Linked DNA regions of Homo sapiens: all the other regions are linked to region 2. The links are contacts of gene promoters, found by promoter capture Hi-C in blood cells and fetal thymus (Javierre and others, 2016). All regions are on one chromosome and are shown on one strand. Each heading gives the region's core, a stretch centred on a gene start or on the middle of the fragment in contact. The rest is flanking DNA. Distances are from core to core; before and after follow the strand shown.

The links. Contacts are between HindIII fragments. The CHiCAGO score rates a contact against its expected background, and 5 or more counts as called.
Region 1: a fragment that was not itself captured here is called in contact with the fragment with the promoter of DNAAF2 in region 2 in 7 of 17 cell types (erythroblasts, megakaryocytes, total CD8 T cells and 4 more); the score reaches 11.4 in erythroblasts.
Region 3: a contact is called between a fragment that was not itself captured here and the fragment with the promoter of DNAAF2 in region 2, in 3 of 17 cell types (erythroblasts, naive CD4 T cells and megakaryocytes). The highest score is 6.1, in erythroblasts.
Region 4: a fragment that was not itself captured here is called in contact with the fragment with the promoter of DNAAF2 in region 2 in 4 of 17 cell types (erythroblasts, megakaryocytes, total CD8 T cells and 1 more); the score reaches 8.6 in erythroblasts.

What each region holds. Positions count from the first base shown.
Region 1 is chr14:49,823,793-49,828,370 of GRCh38, forward strand. It overlaps NEMF (nuclear export mediator factor), which reads right to left. Exons shown (of 33, transcript NM_004713.6): 15 at 4,499-4,562; 16 at 2,075-2,163. Among named protein-coding and RNA genes, the nearest start is that of NEMF, 27 kb to the right of the region's middle. The HindIII fragment of the contact is 968 bases long and covers 1,015-1,982 here.
Region 2 is chr14:49,633,522-49,638,024 of GRCh38, forward strand. It overlaps DNAAF2 (dynein axonemal assembly factor 2), which reads right to left and starts at 1,723. Exons shown (of 3, transcript NM_018139.3): 1 at 1-1,723. The coding sequence starts at 1,628. RefSeq lists enhancers at 1-4, 555-794, 607-1,367 and silencers at 285-554, 825-1,064, 1,295-1,344. The HindIII fragment of the contact is 6,803 bases long and covers 1-4,503 here.
Region 3 is chr14:49,805,804-49,810,433 of GRCh38, forward strand. It overlaps NEMF (nuclear export mediator factor), which reads right to left. Exons shown (of 33, transcript NM_004713.6): 19 at 218-330. Among named protein-coding and RNA genes, the nearest start is that of KLHDC2, 40 kb to the left of the region's middle. The HindIII fragment of the contact is 3,899 bases long and covers 860-4,630 here.
Region 4 is chr14:49,786,594-49,791,328 of GRCh38, forward strand. It overlaps NEMF (nuclear export mediator factor), which reads right to left. Exons shown (of 33, transcript NM_004713.6): 27 at 2,903-2,980; 28 at 2,553-2,750; 29 at 125-157. Among named protein-coding and RNA genes, the nearest start is that of KLHDC2, 21 kb to the left of the region's middle. The HindIII fragment of the contact is 580 bases long and covers 1,321-1,900 here.

The DNA of each region.
Region 1 (4,578 bases), core at 249-2,748, 190 kb after region 2:
ATTTTGAAAAATTTGGAGAAAAAATTGGGAGGGGAGAAATATCTACAAGCTTGTAGAGAGGCAAAAACAAGTTTCATGTAAAATATCAACTATCAGCCAGGTGTGATGGCTCAAGCCTGTAATCCCAGCATTTTGGGAGGCTGAGGCGGGCAGATCACTTGAGGCCAAGAGTTAAGAGACCAGCATGGGCAACATGGCAGAAACCCTTCTCTACTAAACACACAAAAATTAGTTGGGCATGGTGGCGTGCACCTGTAATCCCAGCTACTCGGGAGGCTGAGACAGGAGAATCACTTGAACCCAGGAAGCGGAGGTTGCAGTGAGCCAAGATCATGCCACTGCACTCCAGCCTGGGCAACAAAGTGAGACTCTGTCTCAAAAAAAATAAAATAAATAAAATATCAACTATCAAAATAATACCAGATTTCTCAAGTTACTATAATGAAGCAATACCTTTAAAAGTCTGAGGAGGCGGGGCGTGGTGGCTCACGCCTGTAATCCCAACACTTTGGGAGGCTGAGGCGGGTGGAACACGAGGTCAGGAGTTTGAGACCAGGGTGGCAAGTAAGGTGAAACCCCATCTCTACTAAAAATACAAAAATTAGCCAGGCGTGGTGGTGGGTGCCTGTAATCCCAGCTACTCCAGAGGCTGAGGCATGAGAATCGCTTCAAACTGGAAGGCAGAGGTTACAGTGAGCCAAAGACTGCGCCACTGCACTCCAGCCTGGGCAATAAAAGTGAAATTCCGTCTCAAAAAAAAAAAAAAAAAGTCTGAGGAAAATATATTTTCATAGAATTCTATACTCAATTTTTTTTTTTAAGAGACGGGGTTTGGCATGTTGCACAGGCTAGTCTCGAACTCCAGAGGTCAAGAGGTCCACCCACCTCACCCTCCCAGAGTGCTGAGATTACAGGAATGGGCCACCATGCCCAGCCCACTCAAACTATAAGAGTAAAATGTTTTATACATTGGAGACCTCAAAAACTCTGCTTTCTATACACCCTTTCTTGTGAAGCTTCTGGAACACACACTCTTTCAACCAAGAAAGAAGTATGAGATCCAGAAAAGAGTTTCCAAAACAGAGAAGGATAAAGATAACAATAAAAAGAAAAGTGTACGATGCTTAGAGAGAACCAATATAAAATTAAGTAAGTCAAAAAGCTCCAGGAGAGACTTCTGACCTCTGCAAGATGATACTGATTGAATTCCAATGTGTCTGAACACACTTGGAAGATATTATTTAGATAAATTAGTGATAAGAACAAAAATAAAAAGCAAATGAAATGACAATTAATAACTCCAGGGAAGATTTTTAAAACTGAGCAAGGAAGGAAAAAGAAAACAGAATTCTATGTGGGTCAGCTATGACATATAAATTATATGACTACAATTTAAATATTTATAATGATGCCAATGCTATTAATCTTGACAAAATTATGCTGTAACTGTGTGTGTATGTAATGGAACACAAGTGGAAAGAGGGAAATCCTCATCTTTCCCAGTGGGAAGTTAGTAAGAATATAAAACAGAAAAATTAAGAAGTAGCAATATAAACATATTACTAAGATAAATAAAGGCAAATATCAAAAGAATCAACTAAAAGAGCTAAAAGTGGTTTCCTTCGGAGAGCAGGCAATAGGAGTAAAGGTGAGGAACTGGAGAACTAGCTGAGTGCAGAAGCGTATGCCTGTAATCCAGCACTGAGGCTGAGGCAGGAGGATCTCTTGAGCCTAGAAGTTTGAGACCAGCCTGGGCAACAAAGTGAGACCCTGCCTCTACAAAAAATTAAAAAATTAGCTGGGCACAGTGGCATGTGCCTGTAGTCTCAGCTACTTGGGAGGCTGAGGTGGGAGAACTGTCAGAGCCCAGGAGGTCAATGCTACAGTGAGCCATGTTCATGCCACTGTATTCCACCCTGGGTGACAGAGAACCTGTCTCAAACAAACCAACAAAAAATTGCAGAGCTACTGGTTTTGTAACAAGCTTTGTAGAACTGTTTGACTTTTCTAAACAATGTGCATGGATAATTTTAATAAAAACAAAAACTGTATTTGAAAGAGACAGAACACTTACCAATATACTTTTCTTGCTTTTTGAATAGAGGTAACAGTCTGAACTTCTTTTAATGTTTGCTTTGTTTTCTTTTCTGCTGACTTGAATGCCTATTTATAGAAAAGAGTTTTAAAAACAATTTGTTAAGAATGTATTTAAATAACACCAAAGTAAATAATGGGGCAAGAATTTTTTTAAATGTCACAAAATGGCACAATCTACACACACACACACAAACACACACACACACAAATACGCATACTTGAAAGTAATGAAGAAATGAAAATATTTTTGCCTGAAGTATTAAAATAATCTAAACTAAAGAATTACTACATGAAAATATTTGCCCAAGACCTACAAAGTAATAAATACCTTGTCATTTTCTAGATACTGAGTACCTATCATATGCTTGGTTCTAGGCTAGATGCCATTAGAGATATAAGAGTGAACAAGATGGACAAAGCCCCCACTCCCACCCCACTAGGTCTAGAAGAGACAACTATTAATCATATAATCCTTTAAATAAATATATAATGGTGAGTGCTTCTAAAGATGCTACAGGAATATAACAAGGAAACCCGATTTACACTGGGTTATGGTCAAAGAAGGTATCTCTGAGGAAATGACATTTAAGCTGAATCCTCAACGACTAACGGGGTTATCAGGCAAAGAATAGGAAAAAGGGCATTACAAGCAAAAAAAAAAAAAAAAAAAAGACCAGCAAGTACAGCAAGTAGTAATCAAGGGCATAATGTCAAGAAATGAGGTTGAAGCAATAGACAGAGGGCCAAGTCATGAAGGCCACTCATTTAACAGCTATTAAAGTGCCTACTCTGTGCCAGGCAATATTCCAGGGATTGGGATGCAGCAATGAACAACACAAAGATTCTACTTTCATGCAATCTATATTCTAGAGGGAATCCAGAAAAAATATTCAAATAAACATATGTTGGGCTGGGGGGAGTGTTTTTCAAGAAGAAAATAAGGCAAAATAAAGAGAGATTCAGGGTGGTACTATCGTTAGTAATGAGCGGTCAAGGAAGGATTCTCTGATTAAATCTCATTTAAGTGGATATGTAAATGAAGAGAGGGGTCAAACTGAAAATTCCAGGTAGAGAGAACAGCAAGGGCAAAGACCCTGAGAGGGGAGCACGTGTCATTATTTTATGAACAGCTAAGATCCCAGTGTAGCCAGAAAGAGTGTATGAGAGGAGGAATGCAGGTGTTGAGGTCAGAGGGGAGGAGATCTCCCGTCCTTCTTGCAGGATAGGAGAAGGGCTCTGAATTGTATTAAGATGGGAAGCAACTGGAAGAGAAAAAGGACTTCACTTTTGATTTATTTATTTTAATATATTTTTTGAGACGGAGTCTCGCTCTGTCTCCCAGGCTAGAGTGCAATGGCATGATCTCAGCTCACTGCAACCTCCACCTCCCGGGTTCATTAGATTCTCCCACCTCAGCCGCCCAAGTAGCTGGGATTACAGGTACCCGCCATCACCTCAGGCTAATTTTTGTATTTTCAGTAGATATGGGGTTTCACCATGTTGGCCAGGCTGGTCTCAAACTCCTGGCTTCAAGCGATCCACCGGCCTCGGCCTTCCAAAGTGCTGGAATTACAGGCGTCAACCACCACACCCAGTCTTCACTTTTGATTCAAAAGGATCACAACGGGGCTAGGCATGGTGGCTCACACCTGTAATCCCAGCACTTTGGGAGGCCGAAGGTCAAGGCCTGAAGCGGGCGGATCACCTGAGGTCAGCAGTTTGAGACCAAGCTGACCAACATGGTGAAACCCTGTCTCTACTAAAACTACAAAAATTAGCTGGGTGTGGTGGCGGGCGCCTGTAATCCCAGCTACTTAGGAGGCTGAGGTGGGAGAATCGCTTGAACCTGGGAGGCAGAAGTTGCAGTGAGCTGAGATCAAGCCATTGCACTCCAGCCTGAGCAATAAGAGTGAAACTCCATCGCAAAAAAAAAAAAGGGTCACAATGGCTGCTATGTGGAGAACAGACTGTAGTGGGAAAAGAGGAGGAGGAGAGAGATCCAATAAGAGGCTACTTGTCATAGTCCATGTGAACACAGAGGTGATAGGGGACTGATCAGTGGAAATAATGAGTAGTAGCCAGATTCTGGCTGTACTTTAAAGAAAGAACCAAAGGATTTACTGATGGATTGCATGATTTATGGGAAAAGAGTCCAGGATATCACAAACATTTTTAACCTGAGTGAACAGAAAAATGAAGGTGTTATTTACTGAGATGAGGAAGAATAGGGGAGGAGCAGTCCTGGGGGGAAAAAATACTGGAAATACATATATTTAAAGCAAAGTTAAGTTTGAAAGATACTTCTGAATTAGAAAACCTCATTTAAACAGAAGAAATAATTATGTCCATTAAATTACGCAGGCACAAACAACTAACATTCACTCTAAGAAATACTCAGTACCTTCTCAGCAGCTTCAACAGTCTTTTGTGTTTTCTTAGCAGCATATCTCTTGTGATCATAATACCTAGAAAAACATATTT
Region 2 (4,503 bases), core at 473-2,972:
ATCCGAGGCACCTGAATGAGCAGAGTCAAGGTTTCTTTGTCCTGATTACACAGTAACGGAGGACACAAAGGCTCCCCGCTCTTGGTCCCGGGACCACCCATGGCGCAGGCTGAGCGCTGGCCGCCCGTGCCCTCCGACTCCTCGCGTGTTTCCACACTGCTATCTCCGCGCGCACTCTCTCTTCCCGCAGAAGAACCCCACGCCAGGCTCCGGGAGGACAAACAAGGGGAGCCTCCGCCACCAGGTGAGTTTTCTCCTCCAGGAGATGGCTCCTCCACGCTGCCCGGCGGTGACCCCGCGTGCCTGCTCAAGTCCTGCTCCCCCGGCTTGGGGACACGCTCCTCTCCAGCTGCGGCCGGCGGAGGCGCCACCTCCGGGTCGCCCAGGGTGGTGACCCCGGAGCCCGCAGCCCCAGCCACGCAGGTATCGTGGCCTCCGTCCTCCGCGCGACTCCTCGCGGGTCCCGCCTCCCCCTCGCGAGCGGAAGCGCAGGCCTGGCCGTCAGTTCCGGACCGGTCCGCGGACTCTTCCGGCGCGGCGGCGGCGACGGCGACAGCGGGCTCCCGGCGCGCGGCCGGCAGCACCACTGGCAGCGTAACCACCAGCTGCCGCCGGGCCTTGTTGAATTGTGCCTTGCCGCGGCCATCGTCCACTGGGTACGGGAGCGAGAGCCGCAGCCGGTAGTCAGGTTTCCTCGAGTCGAGGCACAGCAGCTTTCTCGTTACCTCCAGCGCCGCCTGCTCGGCCGAGCGCAACAGCGGCAGTTCGATGGTGATCACCAGCTCATGGGGCACGGGGCTCGGGGCTGAGTCCCTGGAGCAGCGGTAATCCTGGAGGTCCACGTGGTGGCGCTGCACCACGCTGTAGCGAGGCTCGGTGGGGGCGGGCTGCAAGGCCGCTTCCGGAGGGGAGGGCGCCCGGGGCCCGGGGGCTGCCGGGTACTGGTAAGGGTAGGGGAAGTCCGGGAGAGGACCCTTCGGCTCCCCGTCAGGCCTTGCGGGGATGACCCCGGGCAGGGGCGTGCGCAGCACCGCAGCCTCTGGGGTCCCCTTATACTTGGCCTTCAGGGTCTTGGCATTCCTGCGGTCCAGCTTCACGCCGAACTGCTTCTCGACGGCCTCCAGGGCCGTGGCGTCCAGCATCTGGCGGAAGCCCTCGTGCCGCCGGGCCAGCGCAAGCGCGTCTGGATGGAAGACCACGTCGTAGACCATGTAGCGGCTGCTGCTGCGCCCCGCGTACTCGCGGCCGGGCGCCAGGCTGTAGGGCAGGGACCAGTGGCTGCCAGGAGCTGCGCCCCGGTCGCCACCGGAGCCGGGCCGGCTGCTGGGCGCGCCCACCAACGCGTTGCTGCAGACATTCACAAAGCAGCGCCGCGCCCCGTCCAGGCTGGTGCGCAGCACATGGCCGGGCTCCGGGTGCACGAACCGCACTTCCACCCCGCGCTCACGCTCTAGCGCGGTGATCTCCGCCTCGTAGCGCCGCCGGTTCTCCGGGTCGGTGAGCTCCTCGGCGTACTGGGAGAACATTCGCCGGAACTCCGGGTCCTGGAAGGCGGAGGTGAGCCGCTGGACCTCCTCTCCGCTCAGGTCCAAGTCCTCCAGCGACGAGGAGGCCGCCGCTTTGGCCATACTGTCCTGTGGCTCCTCGCCCTCGGGCCAAAGGCGATCAGTCTGACACTGGGTTGGGGGATCCGCCTCAGAGTTTCTGGGCAGCGTACAGTGACGCGGTGGAGGTCGGTAACGGCTGGAAAATTGAGCCTTGAGCAGCGCGTGCTTGTTGTCATAGTTACACCACTAACATTCGGGAGGAGGGGTAGAGATCATGGTGGAATAGGCCGGGCGCGGTGGCTCAGGCCTGTAATCCCAGCACTTTGGGAAGCCTAGGCGGGCGGATCACGAGGTCAGGAGATCGAGACCATCCTGGCTAACACGGTGAAACCCCGTCTCTACTAAAAATACAAAAAATTAGCCGGGCATGGTGGCGGGTGCCTGTAGTCCCAGCTACTCGGAAGGCTGAGGCAGTAGAATGGGGTGAAACCCAGGAGGCAGAGCTCTTGCGGTGAGCCAAGATCGCGCCACTGCACTCCGGCCTGGGCGACAGAGCAAGTCTCTCAAGGAAATCATGGTGGAATAGTGGAAATGCCAGAAATAGCCCTCTTAGATTCTTCAAACCAACCCACCACCGTACTTTGTTTTGTTTTGTTTTGTTTTTCTTTTTTTGAGACAGAGTCTCGCTCTGTCACCCAGGCTGGAGTGCAGTGGCGCAGTTTCGGCTCACTGCAAGCTCCACCTCCCAGGTTCACGCCACTCTCCTGCCTCAGCCTCCCGAGCAGCTGGGACTACAGGCGCCTGCCACTACGCCCAGCTAATGTTTTGTATTTTTACTAGAGACAGGGTTTCACCGTGTTAGCCAGGATGGTCTCGATCTCCTGACTTCGTGATCCGCCCGCCTCGGCCTCCCAGAGTGCTGGGATTATAGGATTACAGGCATGAGCCACCACACCAGGTCCAAAACCTTTTTTTTTTTTTTTTTTTTTTTGAGGCTGTCTCACTCTGTCACCCAGGCTGGAGTGCAGTGGTGCAGTCTTGGCTCACTGCAACCTCCGCCTCCCGGGTTCAGGCAATTCTCCCTGCCTCAGCCTCCCAGGTAGCTGGGATTACAGTGACTCACCACCACGTCCGGCTAAGTTTTGTATTTTTAGTAGGGATGGGATTTCACCATGTTGGCCAGGCTGGTCTCCCACTCTTGACCTCATGTGATCTGCCCACCTCAGCCTCCCAAAGTGCTGGGATTACAGGCATGAGCCACCGCGCCCGGCCTAAAACCTTTCTAATGTGCATATTTTTTTGACCCAAATGCCCTTAGAGTATTTGACACAATACTCTTAGAACATTCTCAAGGTGACATCATTTATGATTCTAAAGGTTTGAGAAGAATCTACAAATTCAACAATGGAACTGATTGAGCAGGTTTTGGTAGAGCCACGCAACAGAGTTTTGTGCAACCATTCAAAATGATCATATGGAAGTATATTTATTTACTGGAGTAATTATTTATTCATTGGTAATTGGTCAATTCAGTGATCATTTTTCTATTCTCAGCAACATTTAACACAGTTGATGTTGGCATTACCTCAGTGACAAGACACTTTCCAGATTTCTCTTCTGTCTCATCACTCTCATAGTTTTGCTCTGTAGGTATCTACTTCTTTTCAACTTCTACATGGAAATGCCCCAAAACTGGGACCCAATCTCTTACCCATCTATACTCTCCTTCAGAAATATATTTACACTCACAAATACTTGTCTTAGACTCAGATTTTACACTCCTATATCCAGCTGCACGTTTGAGGTGTCCATTTGAGTGATTAATGCATAAGCTACTCAGGCTTGAAATGACCAAGATCAGAACTCCTGAATCCTCTTTTCCCAAACCACTGCCTTATCTTATGGTCTCTTGGAAGCATTCAAAGCAGTTGACTGCCCCTTCGAAACACATTTTTCTCATGTTTTGCAGAACTCCAAGCTCTCCCATTTTCCTCCTTTATGCTCCTGCCAGTTCTGCAAATGTGGGAGTTGCCCAAGGCTTTGTTCATCAGCCCTCTTACCTAATCACATTTCTTCCAAGATGTCTTATCCAAGCCCATAGTTTTAAATGCCATCTGTGTTCAAATTAGTCCTTTCAACAGATATTTATTGTGTGCTTATTGCACTTATTATATAGGTAATTAACAAAGATGTGAAGCAGTTGCATTGCTTTTTTTTTTGAGACAGAGTCTTGCTCTGTCGCCTAGACTGGGGTGCTTTGGCGCGATCTTGGCTCACTGCAACCTCCGCCTCCTGGGTTCAAACAATTCTCCTGCCTCAGCCTCCCAAGTAGCTGGGATTGCAGGCACCTACCACTGCGCCCAGCTAATTTTTGTATTTTTTAGTAGAGATGGGATTTCACCATGTTGGTCAGGCTGGTCTCCAACTCCTGAGCTCAGGTGATCCGCCCACCTCGGCTTCCCAAAGTGCTGGGATTACAGGCACAAGCCACCATGCCCAGCCAGCAATTGCACTTTCATATCCTGGGAGTATATATTGGAACACTGTTAACATAAGGCTTACGACAATGAAATTCTCCCAGATACACATTCAACAGAAACACATATCCCCACCAAAACACATGTACTACAATGTGTGTATTCATAGCGGCACTATTTCATAGTTGACAAATTCTGGAAGCAACCCAAATTCTCATTCATAGTAGAATGGATAAATGTAAATATCCACCCACACAATGCACTACTCAACAGTATAGATGAGTATCATTAACATAATGGTGCTTGAAAGAAACCAGATGTAAAATAATACATATGACTCTGTCATATAATAGACAAAACATGGCAAAATAAATCTGTTAAGCCAAGCTAGTGATGGCCATGTTGGGAGAGCTTCTGGGTGAGGGTCTGTTAATCTTGGTTACATTGGGTGTGCAATTTGTGAAATTCATTGTGCTGTA
Region 3 (4,630 bases), core at 1,559-4,058, 170 kb after region 2:
CATCCAAAACGGTATCCCCTATCACTCTCTATCCCCTTCCATGCTTTTAAAAACACTATTTTATGGCACTTATTACCTGACATTATGTACATATTTTCCTCTACCAAAAAGAGTTAGCTCTATTGAGCCTTGTCTGCTTTATTTACTTCTATACTCTCAAAATTTGGCACACAGTAGCTCTTAGTAAATTAAGAAAAAGGACAAGAGCCCTTATTACCTGATGATGGTACACCCACCAAGCACTAGTGATAACTCGTGCATCCCAAGCAGCACTGTAGCAAAGTGCCATTGTGCCAGCTTCAGTCAAGGTCCGTGGGGGGATGGGTTCTCCTAGAATAACAATGCATAATGTTTCAATACCAAAGTATGGACTTTCTCCAGAGCAAGATATGAAAATCACATGCCGCATGACAGGGTCAATGATATGTGTATATATATATATATATATATATATTTTTTTTTTTTTTTTTTTTTTTGAGATGGAGTTTCGCTCTGTTGTTCTGGCTGGAGTGCAATGGCGCAATCTCAGCTCACTGCAACCTCCGCCTCCCGGGTTCAAGCAATTCTCTGCCTCAGCCTCCCGAGTAGCTGCAATTACCAGCGCCCGCCACCATGCCCGGCTAAATTTTTGTATCTTTAGTAGAGATGGGGTTTCACCATCTTGGTCAGGCTGGTCTTGAACTCCTGACCTCATGATCCACCCACCTCGGCCTCCCAGAGTGCTGGAACTACAGGCATGAGCCACCGAACCCGGCCGGTCAATCACATATCTTAAATACTAATACATTTTTACTTCACCATTATAAAAAGTTACTATTTTAATTAAAAATGTATTTTTAATACTCCTATTTACAGAGCAAGCTTTTAAATGACCTACGTAAATAAAACATGTCAGAGAAGAAATATCCTCTCACATCAATAATTCTAACTTCACTCCAGAAAAGATAATTTAGAGAAATCCATTTAAAGTTTGAAGACTTCCAAAATTAAAATAGATTGGCTGAATCATGAACATGAAGAGCATATATGAATAACATGTCCCTTATGGTTAGATTTCAAATATTTTTAAATTGGGGTATAATTCACATGCCATAAAATTCACCCCTTTAAAGTATACAATTCAGTGGCTTTTTGTATATTCATAATGCTGTGTGACCATGACCATCAATACTATTTAATTCCAGAATATTTTCATCATCCCAGAAAAGAAACCCTATATTCATTAGCAGCCACTCCCCATTTTCTCCTCTGTACCCAGCCCCTGGCAATTACTAATCTATTTTCTGTCTCTATGGTTTTGCCTATTTTGGACATTTCATACAAATGTAATCATACACAGCATTTTAGGTTTGGCTTCTTTCACTTAGCTTAATGTTTTTCAAGATTCATCCATGTTAAAAGCACATATAAGTACTTCTGTTCTTTGCAAGTCTGAATAATATTCCATTATATGGATATATCACATTTTGTTTATTCATTAATTGAATGACATATGGATTGTTTCCATTTCTTGGCTATTATAAATAATGCTGCTATCAATATCTGCAAACAAGTTTTGTGTAGACACATACCTTTGCTCATCTTGGGTATATACCTAAGAGAGGAATTGCTGGGTCAATTATGTTTAACATTTTTTGGAACTGCCAAACCACTTCCCACAGCAGCTGTATCATTGTCCATTCCTACCAGCAGTATTCTATGTTCTCCACCATCATCACCAACACGTGTTATTGTTTTCTCCAGCATCATCACCAGCACATGTTAGTGGGTATAAAGTGGTATCTTGTGATTTTTTTTTTTTTTTTTTTTTGAGACGGAGTCTCTCTCTTTTCACCCCGGCTGGAGTGCAGTGGCGTGATCTCGGCTCACTGCAACCTCCACCACCTGGGAAGTGATTCTCCTGCCTCAGCCTCCTGAGTAGCTGGGATTACAGGCATGCACCACTACGCCCGGCTAATTTTTATATATATATATTTTTTTACTAGGGATGGGGTTTCACTATACTGGCCAGGCTGGTCTCAAACTCCTGACCTCAAGTGATTTACCTGCCTCTGCCTCCCAAAGTGCTGGGATTACATGCATGAGCCACAGCGCCTGACTGGTATCTTGTGATTTTGATTTAAATTTTCCTAATAACTGATGATACTGAGAATCGTTTCATGTGATTGTTGGCCATTCACGTATCTTTGCAGAAATATCCATTCAAATCTCTTGCTCATTTTTCAGCTGGGTTACTTCCCTTTCTATTGTTGAAACTTAGGAATTCTTTGGACACTAGACTCATCAGATATATGATTTGCAAATATTTTCTCTTATTCTGTGGGTTGTCTTTTTACTTTCTTGATAATGTTCCTTGGATTAAGGTTTTATTTATTTATTTTATTTTTTGAGACAGAATTTCGCTCATTGCCCAGGCTGGAGTGCAATGATGCCATCTCAGCTCACTGCAACCTTCGCCTCCAGGGTCCAAGCGATTCTCCTGACTCAGCCTCCCAAGTAGCTTGGATTACAGGCACCCGCCATCATACCAGGCTAATTTTTCATATTTTTTAGTTGATACAGGGTTTCACCATGTTGGCCAGGCTGGTCTCGAACTCTTGACCTCAGGTGATCCACCTGCCTCGGCCTCCCAAAGTGTTGGGATTACAGGCATGAGCCACCGTGCCGGGCTGAATTAAGGTTTTTAATTTTATGTCTAACTTACCTGTTTTTTGTTTGATTACTTATGATTTTGGTATCATATCTAAGAAATTACTGCATGATACAAGATCATAAAAATTTATGCCTTGTTTTCTTCTAGCAGCTTTATACTTCTGGCTTTTAAGTTTAGGTCTTGGATGCATTTTAAGTTAATTTTTATAAATGGTGTGATTAAGAGGTCTAACCTCAATCTTTTGCATGTGGATATCTAGTAGTGCCATACTACCGTTAAAAAGTTAAGCCACTGACTGGCAGAAAATACTTGCAAAAGACATAGCAGATAAAAGATTGTTATCTAAAATATAAAAAAACTCTTAGAACTCAACAGTAAAAACACAAACAGCCCAATTAACAAATGGGCCAAAGACTTTTAACAGATACTGCATCGAAGATATACATATGAATATCTAATAAGCATATGAAAAGATGCTCTGCATCATATGTCACCAAGGAAATGCAAATTACAACAACATTGAAATACACTATGCATCAATGATAATGGCCAAAATCCAAAACACTGACAACACTAAATTCTGGTGGCAGTGGAACAACAGGAACTCCCATTGCTGGTGGTGATGTAAAAGGGTACAGCCACTTTAGAATAGACAGTCTGGTGGTTTCTTACAAAACTAAAAATACTCTTACCATGTGATTCAACAATATTGATGTTTGGTATTTACCAAAATGAACTGAAAACTTATATCTGTACAAAAACCTGCACAGATGTTTATAGTAGCTTTATTCATATTGCCAAAACATGGGGGCAACCAAATTCAGTAGATTAATGGATAAACTGTGGTTCATCCAGACAACTGAATATTATTCAGGGATAAAAAGAAATGAGCTATCAAGCCATGAAGAGACATGGAGGAAAGGTAAAAGCATACTACTAAGTGAAGAAGCCAGCCTTTAAAGATCAGTGGTTGTCGGGGGTTGGGGGAAGGGAGGGATGAACAGGCAGGGCACAGAGGACTTTTTTAGCACAACCAAACTAAATCTGTATGATAATACAATGGCAGATACATGTTTTACACATTTGTCCAAACTCAAAGACTATATACATCAAGAGTGAACCCTGGCTGGGCTTGGTGACTCATGCCTGTAATCCCAGCACTTTGGGAGGCTGAGGTGGGCAGAACACTTGTCAGGAGTTCGAGACCAGCCTGGCCAACATAGTAAAACCCTGTTTCTTCTAAAAATACAAAAACTAGCTGGGTGTGGTGGCACGTGCCTGTTAATTCCAGCTACTCTGGAGGCTGAGGCAGGAGAATCGCTTGAACCTGGGAGGCAGACGTTGCAGTAAGCTGAGATTACGCAACTGCACTCCAGGCTGGGCAACAGAGCGAGACTCTGTCTCAAAAAAAGAGAGTGAACTCTAATGCAAACTATGGACTCTGGGCCATAATGATGTGTCAATGTAGGTTCATTAGTTGTAACAAATGTACCGTTCTGGTGGGGGATATCGATAATAGGGGAGGCTACGCATGCATGCAGCAGGGGGTATGAGGGAAATCACTATACATTCTGCTCAATTTTGTTGTGAACCTAAAACTGGTCGAAAAAAATGTCTATTTAAAAAAAGAGGCCGGGTGCGGTGGCTCGTGCCTGTAATCCCAGCACTTTGGGAGGCTGAGGCGGGCGGATCACAAGGTCAAGAGATCAAGACCATCCTGGCTAACACGGTGAAAACTCGTCTCTACTAAAAATACAAAAAATTAGCCGGGCGTGGTGGAGGGCGCCTGTAGTCCCAGCTACTCGGGAGGCTGAGGCAGGAGAATGGTGTGAACCCAGGAGGCAGAGCTTGCATGAGCCGAGATCACACCACTGCACTCCAGCCTGGGTGACAGTGCAAGACTCCATCTCAAAAAACCAAAAACAAAAAATTAAAAAAAGAAAAAAAGAAAGAGGAAATTCTATCCCCATTGGTCTT
Region 4 (4,735 bases), core at 361-2,860, 150 kb after region 2:
GTTTGACTTCGTAGCCTGCAGTCTTGTCTTAGGTTTCTAAGTTTTAATAAGTTGTGTTTCAAACATTCTGGGAACTGAATTGTAATCACAGTGTTGTAGTAGGAACCCCAACATAAAATCATACCTCATTTCCCTGTTGATCCAGATCTTGCTCTTCCTGTTCCGAACATATAAAAATAAAAATGTCAGCTATAATGTAAAATGAAAATTCCACATCATTAAACCATAAGGAGAAAGAAACAGTGATACAACCAGACTGTCATTTCTGACCCACAGGATAGGGGGCCTCAAGGTTATATTCTTCCTAAGACTCTGAAGTGGATTCGTATATGTGTTTGTGTGTGTCTGTTTTATTACTTAAGAAAGTAATGTCATTCAAGAGAAGAAGGGTAGTTCTCTGAAGTAGAGGAGGTGGGAACTGAAACTTTCATATAAAGTATATGTTAAAGCAGCAAAAGTTACAAGTACAATTTAAAATGACAACTAAGGTTGATAAGTTTGCCAGGAGAAAAGCAAATGGAGAATTTTGGTCAACAGAACTTTTATTTTTAAATATCTGTTCAACAGTTTTGGATAAATTTTTCCCATATCCCATAAAATATGCTTAATTTTGTTTGCTTAAGAAAAATCTATCTGGAGATAACTGACTGTCTCAGTCTGTTCAGGCTGCTGTAACAAAATACCTTAGCCTGTATAATTTAGAAACAACAGAAATTTTACTTCTTACAGTTCTGAAGGCTGGGAAGTCCAGCATCAAGGCACCAGCAGATTCAATGTCTGATAAGGGCTTGCCTCAAAGATGGTACCTTAGGCTGGGTGTGGTGGCTCATACCTGTAATCCCAGCACTTTGGGAGGCCAAGGTCGGGGGATCCCTTGAGCCCAGGAGTTCGACACCAGCCTGGGCAACACAGGGAGACCTCATCTTAAAAAAAGATGGCACCTTATTGCAGTGTCCTCACGTGGCAAAAGGGCACTCATCTCATTCATGACAGAAGAGCCCTCGTGACTTCACTTCCTAAAGGCCCAACCTCTTAATACCATCACACTGGGTATTTAGGTTCCCATATATGAATTGTGGGGGGATATTAACATTTAGACCATAGCACCTACTCATGAAAGAACATTAATAATTAACACCTCTAGTGAGTATTTGTGAGTCTAGGATTTACAGAACATAAGGATATTGTACAAATTTTAAAAGCCAAAACGAGTTTTAGTATTACTAAACAACAACTGTTCAGCAGGAAAAAAAAGAAAATAGTAATACAGAATCCCTGTAAGCATTACCTGCACTAAACTGAGCACACAATTATAACTCAAGCTTTACATAAAAAAAATGCTGGTGACAAAGGTAAAAATTTTTTATCTGGCCTCTATTTTAAGCCGTTATTAAAAAATAAACAGGCTGGGCATGTGTCTTACGCCTGTAATCCCAACACTTTGGGAGGCCAAGGCAGGCGGATCACCTGAGATCAGGAGTTCAAGACCAGCCTGGCCAACATGGTGAAACCCCATCACCACTAAAAATACAAAAATAAGCCAGGCGTGATGGTGCATGCTTGTAATCCCAGCTACTCAGAAGGCTGAGGCCGGATAATTGCTTGAATCCGGGAGGTGGAGGTTGCAGTGAGCTGAGATTGTGCCACTGCACTCCAGCCTGGGCAACAGAGCAAGACTGCCTCAAAAAAAAAAAAAAAAAAAATTCAAGAAGAGGTACATATTCATGTAAGAAGATATACAGAAGGCTGGGCTTGCTGTACTGTTAATAAAACAATTAGGCAATCATCTTAGCTGGAAAAATACGAACTCACTGGTTTTGTAACCAGAGTACTTGGCTCTTAAATGGTGTACTCATTTTCAACATTATGTACGACCATATGGCATAGATTCCTATAGAAAAGCTTAGAGAAAGTGAAAATTTATTTTCTACACATCTTCAAGACAATCCCAATTTTCTCTCTCTCTTTTTTTTTTTTTTTTTGAGATGGAGTCTCGCTCTGTCGCCCAGGCTGGAGTGCAGTGGCACAATCTCGGCTCACTGCAAGCTCTGCCTCCCAGGTTCACGCTATTCTGCCTCAGCCTCCCAAGTAGCTGAGACTACAGGCGCTCACCACCACACCCGGCTAATTTTTTTGTATTTTTTTAGTAGAGACAGGGTTTCACCACGTTAGCCAGCATGGTCTCAATCTCCTGACCTTGTGATCTGCCTGCCTTGGCCTCTCAAAGTGCTGGGATTACAGGCGTGAGCCACCGTGCCAGGCCTCTCTGTCTTAATTTAATTCAGTTCCCATCAGAATCAAAGCCTCTCCTTAAAACTGATTACTTCCTAAAGGCTTGTAACAAAATTGTTATCAGCTATCAGTACTACCATTATCATGCTTAGATAAGATACTGCAATTTTAGTCTTTCAGGTTGTATTTCTGGATGACATTCCATTAAGAATAGGGTTACTCACTTGTCTTGGTTTTAGCACTGAAAGTCCCATGTCCTGGGAACTCCAGGATGGGTAATCACCCTAATTAAGAAGCAGAAGCCCACAAAGTAGCCATACCTTGTCATCATGTGGATCATCTACAGCAAAGTCTTGTAACTCATGAGTTATAACCTCAAGGAACGGAGTTTCTTTCTTAATGTTGTCAGAGACCCTCTGTCCACCTCTAGGTTTCTGGGGCTGTTTCTTCACAGGTTCGTCCTTTGTTTTTCCTTTCTTCCCCTTCTTCCCTTTTTCTTCTTTGTTTGAACCTGCAGACTTTAATTCATAGAGGAAACATCAGTCAGTGTTGTATTTTCAATACTGTGAATATTTTAACAAGAATGTATTGAATGCCTGTCATACGCTAGGCAGTGGGCTAGATGCCCATTTGAAAAGCAAAAGAAAAAATGTTTTTAGATGTTATTTACCCCCAGCAACTTCATGATAAGTTCACGGTCTTCTTCATCCTGGTCTTTGTATTTTTCTTTCATTTTTTTCATTTTACTCTACAAAATCAGAAGATTTTGGTTGGAAATATTCAGCAGCAAAAAAATGTCAACAAATACTTGCAAAGAAATGGTGTTACTTTATATTCTCTGTCAAAAATGCTTACTGAATAAGGCACCATTATAATAAACAATATGAAGGCTACAAAGTTGGATAACTGAAGTCCTCATCTTCAAGGAATTTACCATAGGGTGGAGAGAAGATACACAGAGAAGTAAGAATACATTAACAAAACATAAAGAACTGTGAGGAAGAAATAAAGTAAAACAGTATTGGAAAAGCAAGTCTAAAAAGGAAGAGAACAGTAATAGCAAGTCATCACATTTGGTTTGGGTCAGGGTACACATGGAGGAAGAACAGGAAATAAAGCAGCAAAGCTAGGCTAGGCACTTATTCTAGAGGCTTTCAAGACTCTGTATTTTATTAAATAAACCAATGATTCTTTACCCTGATTACATCCCCAAATCACTCTAGGGGTTTTAAACTATAAACATCTAGGCCCCACCCTAGAGATTTTTGTCTTGATTAACTGTGTTAACTGGGACTGAAATAACACATTTTGAAAATTGTAAATTTGTGTCCCTAAACAGGACACAAACACCGTAAAAGACTGATACATCAGACTCAATTAGAATTTAAAAATGCTACTCATCAAAAAAGACTATTAAAAAGTGAAAAACAGCAATCCCCAAAGTGTGAAAAACGCTTGCAATACATATATCCGAGAAAGGACTTGTATTCAGGATTGCAGAGAACCCTTATACATCAACTAGAAAGACAGGACAAACCAATTTTTAAAATAGGCACTTCGAAAGAGGATACACAAAGGTCCAAAAAACATGAGAAAGCGCTCAATATCATTAGTCATCAGGAACATGAAATAAAAGCCAAATGAGCTATCAGCATATACACACTTAAATGACTGAAAAAAGAAAACAATACCAAGTGTTACTACGGATGGGGGACAACTGGAACTCTCATACACTGCCTGGTGGGAAATTGATACAGGTGCTCTGGAAAACTGATTGACAGGATCTAATAAAGGCAAACAACATGTATGCCACAACCCAGAAAATTCCACTCATATGTATATGAACAGAAATGCATACTTAGGGATCCAAAAGTCATGTGAGGGTCTGGCACGGTGGCTCACACCTGTAATCCCAACACTTTGGGAGGTCTGGGTAGGTGGATCACCTGAGGTCAGGAGTTCAAGACCAGCCTGACCAACATGGTGAAACACCATCTCTACCAAAAATACAAACAAAATTAGCCAGGCGTGGTGGTGCATGCCTGTAATCCCAGCTACTTGGGAGTCTGAGGTAGGAGAATCGCTTGAACCTGGGAGACAGAGGTTGCGGTGAGCCGAGATCATGCTATTGCACTCCAACCTGGGCAACAAGAGTAAAACTCTGTCTCAAAAAACAAAAAAAATGTCAAGTGGGGATATTCTTAGCAAGTGGCAAGCATGAGCCTTCTGGCTGGGCGCAGTGGCTCACGCCTGTAATCCCAGCACTTTGGGTGGCCGAGGCGGGTGGATCACAAGGTCAGGAGATCGAGACCATCCTGGCCAACATAAGTGAAACCCCGTCTGTACTAAAAATACAAAAATTAGCTGGGTGTGGTGGCGTGTGCCTGTAGTGCCAGCTACTCAGGAGGCTGAAGCAGGAGAATCGCTTGAACCCAGGAGGCAGAGGTTGCAGTGAGCTGAGATCACACCACTGTACTCCATCCAGGCTGGCAACACAGTGAGA